6 separate regions of the Homo sapiens genome follow, and all the other regions are linked to region 4. Evidence: promoter capture Hi-C in human tissues and cell types (Jung and others, 2019). All regions are on one chromosome and are shown on one strand. Each heading gives the region's core, a stretch centred on a gene start or on the middle of the fragment in contact. The rest is flanking DNA. Distances are from core to core; before and after follow the strand shown.

Region 1 (2,843 bases), core at 340-2,839, 290 kb before region 4:
CTTTGATGATCATTCAATACTTCTTCATTTTGTTGTACAAATTGTTCTAGCTTTGGCCATTGGAGCTTTTTCAGTTGTTTCCTGTGCTCTTTTGCCATACCTCATTGGTGTTTGGGGTTTTTGTTTGTTCGTTTCTTGTTTTTTAGTGCTTCTTTGCTTTCTGGCACTGTAAGACTCCAGGCTCATCTTGCATATTTCCTGCCCCAATCCTGGAATCAGTGATTTCTCCAAGGAGCTCTGATTCCTTTTATTGGAAAACCATATTAAAAACCAAAATATCGGATCGAGACCATCCTGGCTAACACGATGAAACCATGTCTCTAGTAAAAAAAAAAAAAAAAAAGAAAGAAATACAAAAAAATTAGCTGGGCGTGGTGGCAGGCGCCTGTACTCCCAGCTACTTGGGAGGCTGAGGCAGAAGAATGGCATGAACCCGGGAGGCGGAGCTTGCAATGAGCCGAGATTGTGCCACTGCACTCCAGCCTGGGCAAGAAAGCAAGACTCCGTCTCAAAAAAAAAAAAAAAAAAATCTGGCTGGGCATGGTGGCTTACACCCATTATCCCAACACTTTGGGAGGCCAAGGCAGAAGGGTCTCTTGAGTTCAGGAGTTCAAGACCAGCCTGGGCAAACCTCATCTCTATATATTTTGTATAAAACAAAACAAAAAAACAAGATCTGGGCACTATGTGTGCCCATTGGTACTGAAGTATCCTTTCTTGCAGGCTCTTCCAGCTGACAGAGCAAAAAGCATACATGTTTTTATTTTCATTTTTTATATTTAATCTTTGATCCATTTGGAGCTTATGCTGACGTATTCTGAGATACAGATTCCGCTTAACCCTTTTGTCTCAGCATCATTTGTTAAATACTCCATTTTCCCCCACTGATTTGAGATGACACCTTTAAAACTTACTAAGTTTCCATCCAAAACAGAATCTACTTCTGTTTGGTCCACTGGGCTCCTTGACTATTCATGTAGCAGCTACCAAACTGTTTTAAGTGTGAAAACTTTATCATATGTTTTAATATCTAGTAGGAATTGTTCCTCTTTTGTTGGCTTTCTTTTTAAAAGTTTTGCTGGCTTGAAAAAAGGCATTACTTTGAAAAAAATAATTGTTCCTTTTTTTTTTTTTTTTTTTTTTGAGACAAGGTCTCCCTCTGTTGCCCAGGCTAGAGTGCAGTCGCAAAATCTTGGCTCACTACAACCTCCGCTGCCCAGGTTCAAGCAATTCTCCTGCCTCAGCTGACTGAGTAGCTGGGACTACAGATGCCTGCCACCATGCCCGGCTAATTTTTGCATTTTTAGTAGAGATGGGGTTTCACCATGTTGGCCAAGCTGGTCTGAAACTCCTGGCCTCAAGTGATCTGCCTGCCTCAGCCTCCCAAAGTGCTGGGATTACAGGCATGAGCCACCACACCCAGCCAAAAATTGTTTCTTTAATGCCTAAAAATGTTTGTATCCGCTTTTTGGTGGAGGAAAAATACTGCAGCAGCACCACTGATCTGACCACATGAGCATTATGTGAAGACACTTTATCCCAGGCCTCTTTGTTCACTGACAAACAGAGGTGGACTGAGAACCAGGAGCACCATGAGCCCAGTGTCAGGATCGGGGGGCTCTAAACATGGACAGCACAGCATTCCCCATCCTCCTAAAATGGTATCATGCAAAATAGGGCATTTATTTAAAAAAAAATTTTTTTTGGCCAGGAGCAGTGGCTCACGCCTGTAATCCCAGCACTTTGGGAGGCCAAGGTGGGCAGATCACAAGGCCAGGAGTTTGAGACCAGCCTGACCAACATGGTGAAGCCCCGTCTCTACTAAAAATACAAAAATTAGCTGGCGTGGTGGCAGGAGCCTGTAATCCCAGGTACTCAGGAGGTTGAGGCAGGAGAATCACTTGAACCTGGGAAGCAGAGGTTGCAGTGAGCTGAGATTGCACCACTGCACTCCAGCCTAGGCAACAGAGCAAGACCAAGACTCTGCCTCAAAAACAAACAAACACAAAAATTTTTTAAGTAGAAACAGTGCTTCACTTTGTTGCCCAGGCTGATCTTGAACTTCTGGGCCTCCCAAAGAAAATAGTGCATTTCTTTTTTTTTTTTTTTTTTTTTATTGAGACAGGGTCTCACTCCCGTTGCCCAGGGTAGAGTGCAGTGGTGCAATCACAGCTCAATGCAGCCTCGACTTCCCAGGCTCTAGTGATCCTCCCACCTCAGCCTCCCGAGTAGCTGGAACTACAGGCACACACCACCACACCTGGCTAATTTTTTGCACTTTTTATAGAGATGGGGCTTCACGTGTTGCCCAGGCTGGTCTTGAACTCCTGGGCTCAAGCGATCCTCCCACTTTGGCCTCCTAAAGTGCTGGAATGACAGGCATGAGCCACCATGCCCTGTGAAAATAGGGCATTTCTAAACTTGAGAGGGAATGATTTATCAGAAAGCTTTTTTTTTTTTTAAGAGAACAGAGAGAGGCGTGAAAAGCTCATTGTCAAACATCTTTTGTTATGGGACATTATTTTTGCAATCAGTATATGTTCTTGAACATCCTGGGGTGCTTTCTAGAAACTTACTACAATTTCCAAATTCTCACAGAAAATGAGCATTTCCTCTGTTTTGTGAGGGCAACCTGAGCTGGGAGAGGTCTGTGTCTTTTCTTTCCTCTCACTTCCCTGAAGCTGTGTGGGAAAGTGGAAAACAGCCACCACCCTGTCTGGAGAGCCAGTGTCTGGTGGGGTTGGCAGATACCCCGAACCTGAACAGCTCATTGTCCCCAGCAGCTCCTTGAGGCTCGAGCCCCTTCCGGGCTGCAGACCTCCACCCCTACAAATGCGAGAATG
Region 2 (2,824 bases), core at 47-2,546, 360 kb after region 4:
TCTGTGTAAGGGGAACCTGTTGCCTCCCCACCATGGCCTGGACAGCTGAGGAGTCACCAGCTCCATGTTAGAGATGGGGAAACTGAGGCTCAGCCAAGGTCTTGAGGTGCCTCTTGGGAGGGAGAATGTCTCTCCCCAGATAGCTGTCCTTCCCACACCAGTCACTAGGGGGCGACAGGGATGCAGCAGAACTGAATTTCATGGGCTCTCCTTACCATCCTAGGTGCCCCTCCCTGCAGACACCCCAGAGCTAGGAGGATGGGGTAGGAGTGGTGTGGCCCCAAGGCCTCTGCACCGCAGGAGAAGGCAGTAGACCACAGGCCTGGGAGAAGAGGGAAAAGCAGGAGTAGAGGTAGGGATTAGAGAAGCCCCTGGGGCTTCTCTCACTCTAGGGGGACTGGGCTCAGGCCCTGCCTCTCTCTCCTCTCTCTCTCTCTCTCTCTCTCTCTCTCTCTCTATTCATTCCTTTCACTCCTTGTGTTTGCACCTGTGTCTCTCAGTATCTCCTTTCTCTCTGGCTTTGTGGATTTCCTTGTTTCTGCCTGCTCAGTGATTCTCACTTTCTCCGTATACTACGTGTGTGTGTGTGTGTGTGTGTGTGTGTGTCTGTGTCTGTGTCTCTGTGTTTCTGTGTGTGTATGTCTCTGTGTGTCTGTGTATGTGCTTGTGTGTGTGTCTGTGTGTATGCCTATGTGTCTGTGTGTGTCTGTCTCTGTGTATATGTGTGTGTGTGCTTATGTCTGTGTGTGTGTGTCTGTGTGTGTGTCTGTGTCTGTGTGTCTCTGTGTGTCTGTACGTGTATGTCTGTGTGTCTCTGTGTGTCTGTACGTGTATGTCTGTGTGTCTCTCTGTGAGTGTCTGAGAGGCTCTGGGTGTCTCTGTCCGTTGTGTCTGCCTCTGTCTTATCTTTGTCTCTCCCTCTTTCTCCCTCTTGTGATGTCTCTACCTCTCTCTGTCTCTATCTCTTTTTTCCCTGTCTCTGTTTCATATGTTTCTGCCTCTGTCTCATTTTGTTTTTGTCTCTGTCCCGCTCAGTTTCACATCCTGTCCCTCCCCAGCCACCACCACCCAGCACACGTGGGCTGAGGGTCTCAGTCCCTTCCTTCCCAACTCCTCATCCCTGGCAGCTGCTCGGCTTCCCACTACTGGCCTCTCCTGCCCGCCTCTTTTGGGCCTTGTGGGAGTGGGGCGAGGGAGGAGGGGAGGATGGCTCAGCAGACCCACCCCTTTTTGCCTTTCCAGGCTGGGAGGCTGGGCCAGTGGACCTTTTAACCAGCCTGGGCAGGCTATTCCGGACGCCAGCCCTGGAAGCTGAGCCTGACCCAGCAGGTCCCAGCAGCCTGGCAGCCCGGCCAGCATGCAGCAGCAGCCTCTGCCCGGGCCTGGCGCCCCCACAACTGAGCCAACCAAGCCTCCCTACAGCTACATCGCCCTTATTGCTATGGCCATCCAGAGCTCACCGGGGCAGCGGGCCACCCTCAGTGGCATCTACCGCTACATCATGGGCCGATTCGCCTTCTACCGCCACAACCGGCCCGGCTGGCAGAACAGCATCCGCCACAACCTGTCACTCAACGAGTGCTTTGTCAAGGTGCCCCGCGATGACCGCAAGCCAGGCAAGGGCAGCTACTGGACGCTGGACCCTGACTGCCACGACATGTTTGAGCACGGCAGCTTCCTACGCCGCCGCCGCCGCTTCACCCGGCAGACAGGTGCTGAGGGCACCCGGGGCCCCGCCAAGGCACGCCGTGGACCCCTCAGGGCGACCAGCCAGGACCCAGGAGTCCCCAACGCCACGACCGGCAGGCAGTGCTCATTCCCACCAGAGCTGCCAGATCCCAAGGGCCTAAGCTTTGGGGGTCTGGTGGGGGCCATGCCAGCCAGTATGTGCCCAGCAACCACTGATGGCAGGCCTCGGCCACCCATGGAGCCCAAAGAGATTTCCACGCCCAAGCCTGCATGCCCAGGGGAGCTCCCCGTGGCCACCTCATCTTCCTCATGCCCAGCGTTTGGCTTTCCTGCCGGCTTCTCAGAGGCTGAGAGTTTTAATAAGGCCCCTACGCCCGTCTTGTCCCCGGAATCAGGCATCGGGAGCAGCTACCAGTGTCGGCTGCAGGCACTGAATTTTTGCATGGGGGCTGACCCAGGCCTTGAGCACCTCTTGGCCTCAGCAGCCCCCTCCCCTGCACCACCCACCCCTCCAGGCTCACTCCGGGCCCCACTGCCCCTGCCAACTGACCACAAGGAACCCTGGGTTGCAGGTGGCTTCCCTGTCCAGGGAGGCTCCGGCTACCCATTGGGGCTGACCCCCTGCCTATACCGGACGCCAGGAATGTTCTTCTTTGAGTAAAGGCAGCCTCACCTCGGGCAGTCCCTGCAGGTCCCTCACCCTCCGGGCTGAGCCTGGCTCTAGGACCTGAAGAACTCTCGAAGGACCCAGCCCTGGTGAGCCAAGGACAACCACACAGAAAGCCAGGATTGAAGCGGTGCTCAGCCAGGCCCCTGGGGCCTCCGGACAAACTTGGGGGTGAGGGGAAGCAGGGCCTCTTGGGATTTACTCTGTGGCTCTCAGGGCCAATAAAGCCATGTGATGATGAGGGTCAGCTTGCCTGATGGCTGGGGGCTGAGGGCCAGGGTGCCTGCTTGTATGTGGGGGTGGCTGTGGCTGTGGGGTTGTGCAGCGGGGGCAGAGACCCTTGGTGGGAATATCTCACATGAGGTTTTCTCCTGCTGGGGACTTTCTCAGGGAGTTTCCTAGAAAGGGAGAGGAAGGGGAGGTAGGGAATGGGGAGCAGGGAGAGGAGGATACAGGCAAGGGAGAGAC
Region 3 (2,916 bases), core at 141-2,640, 340 kb after region 4:
GCATGGTCCCCTCTAGGGCGGTTGGTGCTGGTATTATCAAGTCCTGGGAAAGGGGCATGAGGGTGTTAGGACCCAGCAGAGGAAAGTAATAAATCCAGACTACACGTGCTTATGTCAGGAACATCTTCACTGTTTATTTGCTCTATGACCTTGGGGACAGGACTTTGCCCCCTCTGAGCCTCAGTTGCCTGATCTGTAAAACGGGAACTTTATAACAGTACCCACTTCACTGAGTGGTTGGGAACCACATAAATAGATGCTCAACAAATCACAACTGATACTATAACAAATTTAATCATATTCTTATCCCATAAACAGAGCCTCTTCACCCTTATCTATTAGAGTCTGTATCATCCACTGGAGAGAAAGAACCATGGGTGGGAAAAGGTCCTGGAGATCTGAAATGAAGACCCGGTTCTGCCATAGACTTGCTGTGTGATCTTGGCCAAGGTCCTTCCCTTCTCTAGGCCTCAGTTTTCCCATATGTCAGATTTGATATTCTCTAACAGCAACCTCTAATAATCTATGATTTTCAATGTCATTCAGAGAAGAAATTTCCAGGCCATTGCAGTCTTATTTTGCCTCATAGGGCAGCCTCGTTTGGGAGTATTTGGAGTAAACAGTCACTAGAGTGCATGGGGAAGGTTGTCAAGTCATGAGTGTATTTACTAATGAAATGACAGCCTACACAATGAGTCTCTGCTCCTACGGCCCTTCCTGCTTCTCCCAAGCATCTCTCCTTCCCCCCTCCATCAGCAAATTTACCAGGCAGGGTTTGATAGTACCACACAAACCCAAGGCCAAATGTGTTGCAAAGTGAAATTGCAAACCTTGCCAAAGATGCAGGATGTCATGACCTTGGGGAATGTGAGTGAGAGAAGGGCTGGAATCTCACACAAAGCCATGGACAAATGAGAACCTGGCTGGTGGTCCCTTAGTTACTGCCAGTGACGGGCCTGGCCCCTGAAAAGAGCCATTTGAATATAAAAATGTTAAGACAGTTTCTCGAGAAAAGCAAGGAGGTCCTCAGGAGGCGGGCAAAAATAATCTTCATGATATTGTGTGGCTAATCAGGAAACAAAGGACATCACAGCAAGTTTGCTGGAAAAAATTCCTGACAATTTATTCCTTGATTATTCTCATAATCAGCACATCATTTTATAACCATGATTCCTGAAATGTATACTTGTTTTCATGATTTTTGTTTCTTTTCAAGATAATCAAATCTGCTCTACCTTTTTTACGATGTAATTTTGTAATTCCCATTTGGAGTGGAGTCCCTTTAAGTAGCCCTTTCCTAGCTACTTGATAAAGGTTCCTGGGTCCCTGTTGGGAGGGATAGGTGACGTCATGCCCACGCCGCTGATGGGGTTAGGAGACACCATGTGCTTAGAAGGTTCAGGAATCACAAGTGGTCACAGCTGGGAGGCCTCAGAGATGACAACTACTTTCTTTGGACAGAGAGGACCACAGTGGGCCAGAGAAGGGCAGGAACTGGGCTGGGGTTATGCCCTGCCTGGGCAGCTCGGACCAGCATCAGGGAGGGTTGCAGGCAAGGTCCCCTGCCTGAGTGTATTTTGTACTTGCAGGATATCACCTACCTTCGCATCCCGGTCGCTGATACCCCTGAGGTACCCATGTAAGTTCCCCTGGATGGACCCATAGATGGACAGACAGCTGCCTTCTGTGGTGGGGGAGGGGGAGGGGGTTTGAAGGAGGACAAAGTACTCAGGCCAGAGAGCTATCACAGGTGTTCAACTCAACCAGTCCCAGGTTTGACTCTGTCTCAACCATGCCCTTGTGATAGGCCCTTGGCCAAGACTCTCCACCTCCCCGAGCCTCAGTCTCATCAGCTATGAAATGGGAAAAGGACACTCTGTACCTTGGGACCAGCTACACCAGCTGATTTGAAAGGGTCATATTCAGCCTGTTCCTGGCCTTGGGGTTAAGACATCTGAGTTCCGGCCAGGCTCTGCCATTTACTTGCTGTGTGACCTTGAACAAATCACTTCCCCGCTCTGGGCCTCACCTGTAAATCAGGAGTGCATGATCAGAGTCAAGGAGGCTTTCGAAGATCAGATGACACAGGTCAAGGATCTAGGATAGGGCCTGGAGTATAACTGAGCTCAGAAAACGGGATTTTTGTTTGTGGCATCAGCAGTAGTGCCTCCCCGCTTGGGATGGAGCCAAGCAGACAGTGCTGCCCCTTGGGAATCTTGCTCCCAGCCTGCTGCTGCCCATCATTGTGCCCAGGTGCTCTGATTGCAGACCCCAGAGGAGTGGGACCCCTGTGTTTCCTCCCACCCATTTCTCTGAAAGGCCACAATAAACCCAACATGAAAACAGGGTCCACAGGAGGAGTGCTCCTGCCTAGATGGTGAGATTTGTCCTGACTGGTCTCTCTCACTGCCTGAAATGCCACCATTCTTGCTTCACACAAACACACCTCCAGCTCATACTAAGTACTGGCCCATATTCACTGCATGTGCTGGCTGACCTGGGGACCCCAGGGCTCTATGTCCCTTGCTATCCTGTAATTGGGGTGGGGGCGGAACAACTCCTGAGAGGTCTGCCCTGCAGTGCTCCCTACCCTATTGCTTTCTCCTCTAGCAAAAAGCACTTCAAAGAATGTATCAACTTCATCCACTGCTGCCGCCTTAATGGGGGGAACTGCCTTGTGCACTGGTGAGTTAAGCGGAGGGGGATAAGGTGGGGGAGGAAGGAAGTGGCTGTGCCCTCTGCTGAACACACACTCCCCCTGTGGGAAGGTTGGACCTGTGAGGGATCTTCTCCAGCCTGTCACAGTGCCTGAGGGCCCACCATTCACTGGAGAGAGGCCAACCCGGGACTCTATTCCTTATGAGCTGTGTGGCCATAGCCAAGTAGCTGTTTCTCTCTGAGACTCAATGTCCTCAT
Region 4 (2,967 bases), core at 153-2,652:
GAACGCAAAGGAGTTAAGTGTGGCTGCAGCTGGAGGATCAGCAGAGAAGGGAGTTGTGGAGATGGCCAGTGGAGGCCACATCATTCAGGGCCCTGAAAGTCATGGTCAGGAGTCTGGAAGCCACTGGGGGCCTTAAGATCATCCACTTCCACAATGATGATCCACCATACCCATTTCAACTGTGCACCTGGCATGGTCTTTAGATTCTCCCCTACCCTGCTCTCTTTATTTTCCCTTAGTATTCATCATCCTCTATGAAACTATGTATTTATTGTTTTATGTTTACCCCTTTTTGGGTTTGCTTGTTTCGAGACAGGGTCTCACTCTGTCACCCAGGCTGGCAGTGCGGTGGCACGATCAGAGCTCACTGCAGCCTCGAATTCCTCGGCTCAAGAGATCCTCCCACCTCAGCCTCCCAAGTAGCCGCCCAGATAACTCCCAAGGGACTACAAGCACACGATACCACGCTCTGCTTTTTTTTTTTTTTTTTTTTTTTGAGATTGGATTTTCACTATGTTGCCTAGGCTGATCTCGAGCTCCTGGCTTCAAGTGATCCTGCCTCGGTCTCTCAAAGTGGTGGGATTACAGAAGTGAGCCACCGCGCCTGGCCTACTTATTCTCAATTGTTTGTCTTCCCCAACTAAAATGAAGGCTCTACAAGGACACGGAGTTTATCTTATTCACTGCGGTATTCCCAGTACAGAGAACAGGGCCCGGCACAGAATAGGTGCCCCATAAATATTTGCTGAATCAATGAAAAATCACCAGGAGCCAGCGTGGGTCAGTGACATCAAGTCCTGCCCCACTAACTCCATTTACTGGACCCTGGACTGGCTTAGACCTCAAGCAAGTCACGTAACCTCTCCCAGCCTCAGTTTTCTCATCTGTCAAATGGAAAGTTGGACACGTTGGCCCCTCTGTGCCCTTGCAACTAAGGCAGAGAGGAGAAGAGCATGCCCCGTCCCGCTCTGAGGTTCTCTCCTGGACCTGTGAAGGTGTCTCTGGGCGCATCTGAGGAGTGGCTTTTCCTCTCCCGGCCTCAGTTTCTCCATCTGAGCAGAGGGCTTGGGAGGCCTTACCCATGCAGGGGCAGTAGAGCAGGTAACCGGCCGGGTCCCAGGAGCCCGCAGGCATCCCCGGGAGCGGCAGAAGCAGCAGCAGGAAAGACACGCTCAGCGGCCGTGCCCACGCGGCGGCGCCCATGTCGGCCCGGGAACCCGAGCCAGCCGCGGCGCACAGTCGGGGAGGGAAGGAGGGACGCGAGCGCCCGCCCCGCTCCCAGCGGTCCCTGCGCGCCGCCCGCGCACCGCCCCGGCCGCTCTAGCCCGCGGGCGGGCGGGACCATAGAGATCCCGCGGCACCGCCCCCTCCACGACCCGAGCGCCCGCTCGCGCGGCTCCCACAATGCACCGCACAATGGCCCGACCGCCGCCACTACCGGGGCCTGAGGGGGCCTGGCGGAGCCCGAGCGCGGCCCGGCCCGCAGCGTGGGGCCCCGAGCGCGGTGAGTGCCGGCGAGGGCCCCAGGGGACGGCGGGGAGAGGGGCGGGAGGCCGTCTCGCTGCGTCCGCGCGCCCTGTACCCGGAGCGGCGGCGCGCCTCATCTCGGGCCCCTCAGCGCGGTCGCCCACACCCCCGACCCGGGGCCCGGTCTGCGCCAACCCGGCCCCAGATAGGCCCTGGGGTGACGAAAACTCTCCCTGGACCCCATACCTGTGTCTGGGGGACCCGAGGAAGCCACCGGTCCCCTCCCTTCCGAGACCTGGAGACGCAGTCCTGAGGGTCCCCCATTCCCGACCCCTAGGCTCCCTGGAGACCCAGATAAGGCGCTGCTGACCTTACCAGGGACCCGGGTCTGGGGGACGCAGATAAGCTGCACCTGCTCCCTCCCTCCGACACGCCTACCCAGACCCACATAACCCCCTTTCCTGCTCCAGATAGCCCGCTCTGTACCCTGTTTCATTTTCCAGACTTACATAACTCCCTTTGAGGCTTCCCTCAAATATCTGGGTCTGGAGAAGTCGAATAAGCCCCACCTGTAGTTCCCTCCTCAGTGGCCATACTCCCAGGCTTTCGACATCTTCCATCCCGTTACCCATTTTGAGACCCTCTTGAAATTCAGAGGATACACTTCTGACTATCCCCATCCCCCCAGCCTTCCAGCCCTTATAATCCCCCATTTCATTCTTGTGGGGATCCCTTAGAGACCCAGGAAAGTTGCTCATGATTCCTTCCCATCCTCGCTCTTCCTTCCCATCCCAGAGACTCCCTCCAGACTTCTCCCTGGATTTCCTTTGCTTCTCCAGCCCTCATCCACTCCCATCTCTCCCAGGCTCGGGGAATTGAACCTTTCCCACACCACAGTGGGGTGATCTAAAAGTTGGCCTGGGACCAGGCTGTGGCCCACCTTGGTGGGGAGAAAGGGGCCTGTTAGGTGGAGGATATGGGGACACCTGTGTGGGGGAATCGGTGCTTTCACCTGCAAGCTTAGCCTGTCTCCTGGCTTGTGTGTTTTTCCACCTGTCAGCCATGGGACTGTGTGTAGAGTCTGGTCTTGGGTTTCTAACCTTTCTCTCCTAAGGTGAGGCCACCAGATTGGGAGCGGGGGTGTCGAATCACGTTTTCTCCCCATGAAAATGGGGTTGTGATGAGTTGCAGCCATTTGTTCAAGGCCTCCCCAGGAGTGGGAGGCAGCAGGAATCTGAGGAAATAGTGAATCAAAGAGACTCCAAAGAGGGCCCATCTACACTGACAGAAGAATTAGCAGCCTGAGAGTAAATCCAACCCCTGTTAATCCTGTTTGATGTTTCTTGGAATGGTGCAAGTCATTGAGACTCTCCAGCCTCCCTGTAATTTAATTCTCCCACCACTCTGGAGTGGGCGGGGGGGAAGGGGGCGACAGCATTCCCATTTCCCCTCTTCTCACTGTTTTCCAGCCAACCAGTGTGTTTTAGGATTTGTTTCTGG
Region 5 (2,700 bases), core at 201-2,700, 450 kb before region 4:
TATTGGGTCTTTAGATCTATGAACATTGGTATTTTTCCATTTATTTATGGCATCTTTAATTTCTTTAAACAATGTTTTGTAGTTTTCAGATTATAAGTTTTGTACTTCTTTTATTCCTAAGCATTTTATTCTCTTTGATGCTAGTATAAATTGAATTATTTTCATAATTACATTTTTGAAGTGTTCATTGCAAATGTGTAGAAGCTCAATTGATTTTTGTATATTGATCTTGTATCCTGCAACTTTGCCAAACCCAATTATTAGTTATAACTTTTTTTTAGTGGATTCTTTAGGATTTTCTCTTTTTTTTTTTTTCGCTCCATCACCCAGGCTGGAGTGCAGTGGCGTGATCTTGGCTCACTGCAAACTCTGCACCCCAAGTTCAAGCAATTCTTGTGCTTCAGCCTCCTGAGTAGCTGGGGTTACAGGCACACACCACCACGCCTGGCTAATTTTTGTATTTTTAGTGGAGACATGGTTTTGCCTTGCTGGCCAGGCTGGTCTTAAACTCCTGACCTTAGGTGATCCACCTGCCTTGGCCTCCCAAAGTGCTGAGATTACAGGCATGAGCCACTGCTCCCAACCAAGATTTTCTATATATAAGATCATGTCATCTGCAAGTAGGGATAGTTTTACTTCTTCTTTTGCAATCTGGATGACTTTATTTTCTTGCCATTGTACCCAGTACAGTGTTGAATACAAGTCGTGAATTCAACTTTGCCGTAAGAGTGGACATCCTTGTCTTGTTCCTGGTCTTGGGGAAAGCACCCAATCTCTCACCATGAAGTATGATACCAGCTGTAGGAACACTCTTCTTAGAACTCCCCGAAAGATTGGCTGGTTTACACCCTCAGTTCTAGCAGTGTGCAAGCAGGAGGCCTAGTCCCCCATCCCTTGCCAACACAGTAACCCCAGGCTTTAGAGGCAAAGAACCAAGCCTGGGAGGGAAGTGCTGCATGCTATGTCACACAGATACTCAGCGACCTACAGTTCAGCTGTCCATATGCACTGGGAGTGAGCCCTGGACACTCAGCCTTCCCTCCCCTAGGGTGGGATGTCTTGAGACCCCCTAAAAAAAAGCATTGGTACAGAGGAACTTCTGGGTTCTGTTCTTGTATTAGTCACTGGCTGTGCAACTGTAGGCAGGTCACTTCCCTCTGGGCCTTGGTTTTCCCATCTGTGTAGTGGAAAGAGTGGTCCACCTTGAAATCTTCCAACTCTGACCATCTCTGCCCCACCCACCCTTAAATTCACAGTGGCTTCAGCATCCACCACTGCCCAGAGGAGCCACCAGAGGGCGCCCCAGACCATCATTTGGCCCAGCTTGGGTGCAGGGTGCCCTGGGGAGGCTGAGAGCAGCGCCTATTTTCCAGGAGCTGCTGGCTGTGCTTGCACAGACTTCCTGTGGCTAGACCAGCCCGCTCCTCTGGCTGAGCTCTGATCTCCAGGAAGGGAGTGACGGAGGCACCATCCCCAAGGCCAGTGACCTAGCACTCACCCTGCCCGCTTTGGGTTGCCGCCTGAGGCTCAGGCTTTGCAACATCGGGGCCAGCAGCCTTGCATCTCTCAGCCTTGAGAGGCTTCCACCATCTCTGAGAGGGCCTCTCACTGGTGCTGCATCCTCTCCCCACCAAATTGCCCAGCAGCAGGAAGCCCCCCAAACTGGTGCGTGTCTGGCTACCTGGAAGGGGGCCCTCACTGTTTTTTGTGGACGTGAATGTATTCATGCTGGGGGTCTGGACAGTGTAGTCTCCAAAAACCACAGCATCCGGGACTCCTAGATACCTCCAGGATAGATCCCAGAACCTTCGAAGCAGGAATCACAGAGGTCAGGGACCACCCAGAACTTCCCAAAAAAGCCAGAGGAGGCTCCATCAGCACCCCCATGACCCCCAGGGCTGATTTTATCGTTCAAATAAAATCAAAACCTTTGCCTTGCAAATTGAGCTCCAAGACACAGCAGCATCTCCCCGCCATCCCAAGAGTCTCACCCCAGCCCCTTTGCATGGAGGGCTGCTGGGCCCCCTCTGATGCCAGGGGTATTTGCTTTTTTTTTTTTTTTTTTTTTTTTTTGAGATGGAGTCTTGCTCTGTCGCCCAGGCTGAAGTGCATGATCTCAGCTCACTGGCACGATCTCAGTTCACTGTAACCTCTGCCCCACCAGGTTCAAGTGATTCTCGTGCCTCAGTCTCCCAAGTAGTTGGTACTACAGGCGTGCACCACCACACCCAGCTAATTTTTGTATTTTTAGTAGAGACGAGGTTTTGTTGTGTTGGCCAGGCTGGTCTCGAACTCCTGATCTCAAGTGATCCTCCTGCCTAAGCCTCCCAAAGTGACAGGTGTGAGCCACTGCATCCAGCCACATTTGCTTTGCATTCTAGTTATTTGTATGTGTGTTTTCTCTCTCCTTCCAGACTGGGGTCCCCTTAAAGGCAGAGTGAATCTCAGATTCATCTTAGTCCCTTCCTGGGGTCTTGTTCAGGACCCTGCATCCAGTAGATGCTCAACAAATGTCAACATAGGAATCCAGGTCCCATCCTCTCCTCACTCAAGGGATCCAAGGCTGCCTCTTCCTCTTCCGTAGTGGTGTGGCTTTGCAGAAGTCACTTAAGCTCTCTAATCCTCCTCCTCAGAGTGCCAGACTGCAGCTGCCACATGAAGAGGTAAGACTCGGACAGGCTAGGTGCCAGGTCACCCCCC
Region 6 (2,954 bases), core at 164-2,663, 390 kb after region 4:
GGGTCTCTCTTACTCCAGTCTTGTATGAATTGTGGCAGGGTTCTGGTTTCTGCAGGGGACAAGGCGGTAGAGGCAATTCACAGGACAGAGGAAACTGAATGTCAGAACTACACTCCCCAGCACTGAATGTGATGATAACCATGCCTAAGACAAGGGAATTAAGCAGGACCCCTAGGGACAGAACCACAGGACCCCTCCCCACTCCCAGGAGGGGATATTCACCTGGAGATGATGGCAGGACAGCTGGGGCTATGCAGAAAGGCAGGTGAGCCCCTCCTGGCTGCTGCTTGGCCCTCTGCTGCCTTCTTGCCCACCCTGGGCTTTCCAGGATCCTGGCTGCCTGAGGCTCCCTGCTCAGCCTTGGGCTTCTTGACGCTGGTCTCAGGTGTCGCAGTCTGCTGGGGCAGGGCTGCCGGGGGCCCAGCACTGCCCTCCGCGGGCCCCCCGCCCCTGTCACCCTCTCCTTTGGGGCCTTGGCTGCTAGTTGAGGGTTGGGCCAGGGTACCATCCCCTTTCTCTGAGGCAGGGGCTTTGGCATCTTTCTTCAGGGTGGGTGGATCCGGAGCTTTCTTTGGGTCTGGGGGGCCAGGGTCTTTCCCTGCAGCCAGGGGTCTTTCACCTGTGGGACCTTTAGGTGCCTTGTCTGCAGAGGAGGTGAGACACCCATCAGGATCCACCCTCCTTTCCTTCCCTCTCACCCAGGCTGGGCAGAGACCAGCTCTGGGCCCAGGTTCCCACCCAGGCAACAACTTGCAAATGCTTGTCCCACTGAGTCTCTGGGGCCACTTGATGGCCCCTAGAGATGAGCTGCCACGACCTTGGAGGGCCTCTGTGGGAGGCTTCCAGCCCTTTGGGTGGGCCTTGGTGGCCCCCATCATCCTTGCCCTGACTGTTTAGGTGCATCCCCAGCAGCCATCCCTGGTGGCTTCACATTTTCCTGGTCTCTCCAGGAAGGGCTTCATACAGGCCCTGGACCCAGCCCAACCCTAGCCAGAGATTCCTCTGATTTCTGGGTCCCCCGTGCACCATGCAAACAAGGCTGGGGCACAGAACTCCCACTGAGGAACCTGCCCAGTCCTGGATTCAAAACCCCCCTTCCCAAGCTCCTCCCTCCATCTCCTGCCCCAGCTTGGCACCTGTTGATGGGTTCTGAATTCCCAGCTCAACTGCTCCATTTTCTGTCGCCATGAGGTAGGGAGGCGTGTGCTGCTGCTTGTCTAACTCAAGTCTTTCTAGCTGCAGAAACAAGAGTGGAGTGTGTCAGGCTGTCCAATTTCCCCTCTCGTCTGGCTGCAGTGAGACAGGAAGCCGAGGCCTGCTAACTGAGGGGAGAGAGGTACCTGGAGCAAAGAGGGGCAACCTGGTTGCCGTCTGTCTCCCAGCGGCTGCTCAGGAGCAGTCCTGGGCAGTTGTAAGGGATTGGGCCGGGTGGGCAGAGGCGGAGGCAGGGGTGTGGGCAGTGGAGGCGGGGACGGAGGAGAGGATCTCTTACACCAGGGGCCATGCAGCTGGGACTGCCGCCACCTGTCACTCTTGGCCCCAGTTCAGAGGACACGGCATTCTTCCCATGGCCCGACTGGGGGGAGAATGATGTTGGAACAAGCGAGAAAAGGGAGGGGTATCTGGGACGCTGGGGGAGCAGCCCTTTCCCCAGGCCTTGCTCAGTATCCCTGACTTGGACAGGATCAGAGGGGGCCTGGAAGAAGGGGAGTACTCAGGCAGGCCTGAAGGGCAAGAGTATGCCCAGGCTGAGCCCTGGTCTGCCCACCTGTGTGCCACATCTCCTGGGGCTCCCCAGAACCTGGCTAGAGCCACAAAGTCCCAGGGATAATCTCCCTGACCCTAGTGCCTAGCTCTGTGCCTCGACATCTGGACCTGCTTGCGTCACCTTTGGGTAAGAAATTGTCTCGGGGGCACTTTCTCAACATGTCCATAGGCCTGGAAGCTTTTTCTTTTGAAACTGTCCTTTTCTTGGGCTCCTGGGGACACGGAGGCTGCCCTGAGTAGCCATGGGAGATGGAGAGTGCTCTGTGCCCCTCCCCCAAGCTCATCCAGTTCTCACCCATGACCCACATGGAAGAAGGGGGCTGGCAGAGAGTCTTTTCAAGGATGCTCCACTACAGGGGTGGCCCGAGGGGCACTCTAGCCTGAGGTGTTCGAGATAGGATGAGGACAGCTATGATCCAAGGAGCCTTCCATCACCCAGAGCCTTTCTCAGAGGGGGCTCTTGAGAACTGGCCAGACCTGGGTGCATTAGAAGTAGCTGTAGAGGCCAGAAGCAGTGGTTCACACCTGTAATCCCAACACTTTGGGAAGCTGAGGCAGGAGGATCACTCGAGGCCAGGAGTTGGAGACTGGCCTGGGCAACATAACAAGACCCCGTCTTTATATTTTAAAAAGTAAGATAAAATGAAGTAGCTGTAGAGTGGTTATCCAGGTTCAGGTCCTGACTGCAGCAAACCAGTCACTTCACTCCATGGCCTCGGCTCCTCTGTCAAATGGGAAGCCATTGGAAAAACGCTTGATGAGAGAAAGGAGGGAGAATGCAGCCCCTCTAAGCAGTGGGGAAATAGGAACCTGTAAAAAAAGATTGAGGAAGCTGTTAATGAACTGACAAAAAGTGACCACCAAAGTGGGGGGAATAAAAAAAGCAAGATGCAAAGTAGCATGTAGAGTGTGCTATCCATTTGTGCAAAAAAAAAAGGGAGAATAATATATGAATAATATATATTTCACTTTATGCACATAAGAATTTATTTGGTAGGATAAGCAAGGAACTGGGCCCCAAGGGTGGGAAGGAGACATCACTGTATATACTTTGACTTTTCTGTTTGAACCATGAACTATGTGAACAGGCTACTATTCAAAATGAGTGGGATGTTTTGTTTTGTGAGCAAATGTCAAGGGTTTTTGGTATAAGCTGGTAAAAACCATAGTTGGAGCTCTTTCCCCAG

The links. The method cuts DNA at HindIII sites, captures the fragments that hold promoters and counts their contacts. A contact is called where the count stands out against the background at its distance.
Region 1: a fragment that was not itself captured here is called in contact with the fragment with the promoter of PLAGL2 in region 4 in 3 of the 25 tissues and cell types used here (dorsolateral prefrontal cortex, lymphoblastoid cells and mesenchymal stem cells).
Region 2: the fragment with the promoter of FOXS1 here is called in contact with the fragment with the promoter of PLAGL2 in region 4 in 1 of the 25 tissues and cell types used here (lymphoblastoid cells).
Region 3: a fragment that was not itself captured here is called in contact with the fragment with the promoter of PLAGL2 in region 4 in 1 of the 25 tissues and cell types used here (spleen).
Region 5: a fragment that was not itself captured here is called in contact with the fragment with the promoter of PLAGL2 in region 4 in 1 of the 25 tissues and cell types used here (small bowel).
Region 6: the fragment with the promoter of MYLK2 here is called in contact with the fragment with the promoter of PLAGL2 in region 4 in 1 of the 25 tissues and cell types used here (lymphoblastoid cells).

The regions. Positions count from the first base shown.
Region 1 is chr20:32,498,039-32,500,881 of GRCh38, reverse strand. All of the region lies in intron 4 of NOL4L (nucleolar protein 4 like), which reads left to right. Among named protein-coding and RNA genes, the nearest start is that of NOL4L-AS1, 62 kb to the left of the region's middle. The HindIII fragment of the contact is 3,583 bases long and covers 1-2,843 here.
Region 2 is chr20:31,844,076-31,846,899 of GRCh38, reverse strand. It overlaps FOXS1 (forkhead box S1), which reads left to right and starts at 1,296. Exons shown (of 1, transcript NM_004118.4): 1 at 1,296-2,597. The coding sequence starts at 1,358. The coding sequence ends at 2,350. It also overlaps a transcript of DUSP15 not described here. RefSeq lists an enhancer at 1,355-1,912. The HindIII fragment of the contact is 12,044 bases long and covers 1-2,824 here.
Region 3 is chr20:31,863,676-31,866,591 of GRCh38, reverse strand. DUSP15 (dual specificity phosphatase 15) reads left to right here. Exons shown (of 7, transcript NM_080611.5): 4 at 1,590-1,639; 5 at 2,611-2,685. Among named protein-coding and RNA genes, the nearest start is that of DUSP15, 5.4 kb to the left of the region's middle. The HindIII fragment of the contact is 6,921 bases long and covers 1-2,916 here.
Region 4 is chr20:32,206,178-32,209,144 of GRCh38, reverse strand. It overlaps PLAGL2 (PLAG1 like zinc finger 2), which reads left to right and starts at 1,402. Exons shown (of 3, transcript NM_002657.3): 1 at 1,402-1,504. POFUT1 (protein O-fucosyltransferase 1) reads right to left here and starts at 1,265. Exons shown (of 7, transcript NM_015352.2): 1 at 1,080-1,265. The coding sequence starts at 1,203. RefSeq lists enhancers at 926-1,055, 518-1,431 and a silencer at 1,196-1,615. The HindIII fragment of the contact is 8,119 bases long and covers 1-2,967 here.
Region 5 is chr20:32,651,696-32,654,395 of GRCh38, reverse strand. C20orf203 (chromosome 20 open reading frame 203) reads left to right here. Exons shown (of 6, transcript NM_182584.4): 2 at 2,415-2,663. Among named protein-coding and RNA genes, the nearest start is that of C20orf203, 21 kb to the left of the region's middle. RefSeq lists a silencer at 1,223-1,322 and an enhancer at 1,613-1,662. The HindIII fragment of the contact is 8,874 bases long and covers 1-2,700 here.
Region 6 is chr20:31,817,815-31,820,768 of GRCh38, reverse strand. It overlaps MYLK2 (myosin light chain kinase 2), which reads right to left and starts at 1,413. Exons shown (of 13, transcript NM_033118.4): 1 at 1,341-1,413; 2 at 1,137-1,236; 3 at 223-643. The coding sequence starts at 1,188. RefSeq lists an enhancer at 388-929. The HindIII fragment of the contact is 11,029 bases long and covers 1-2,954 here.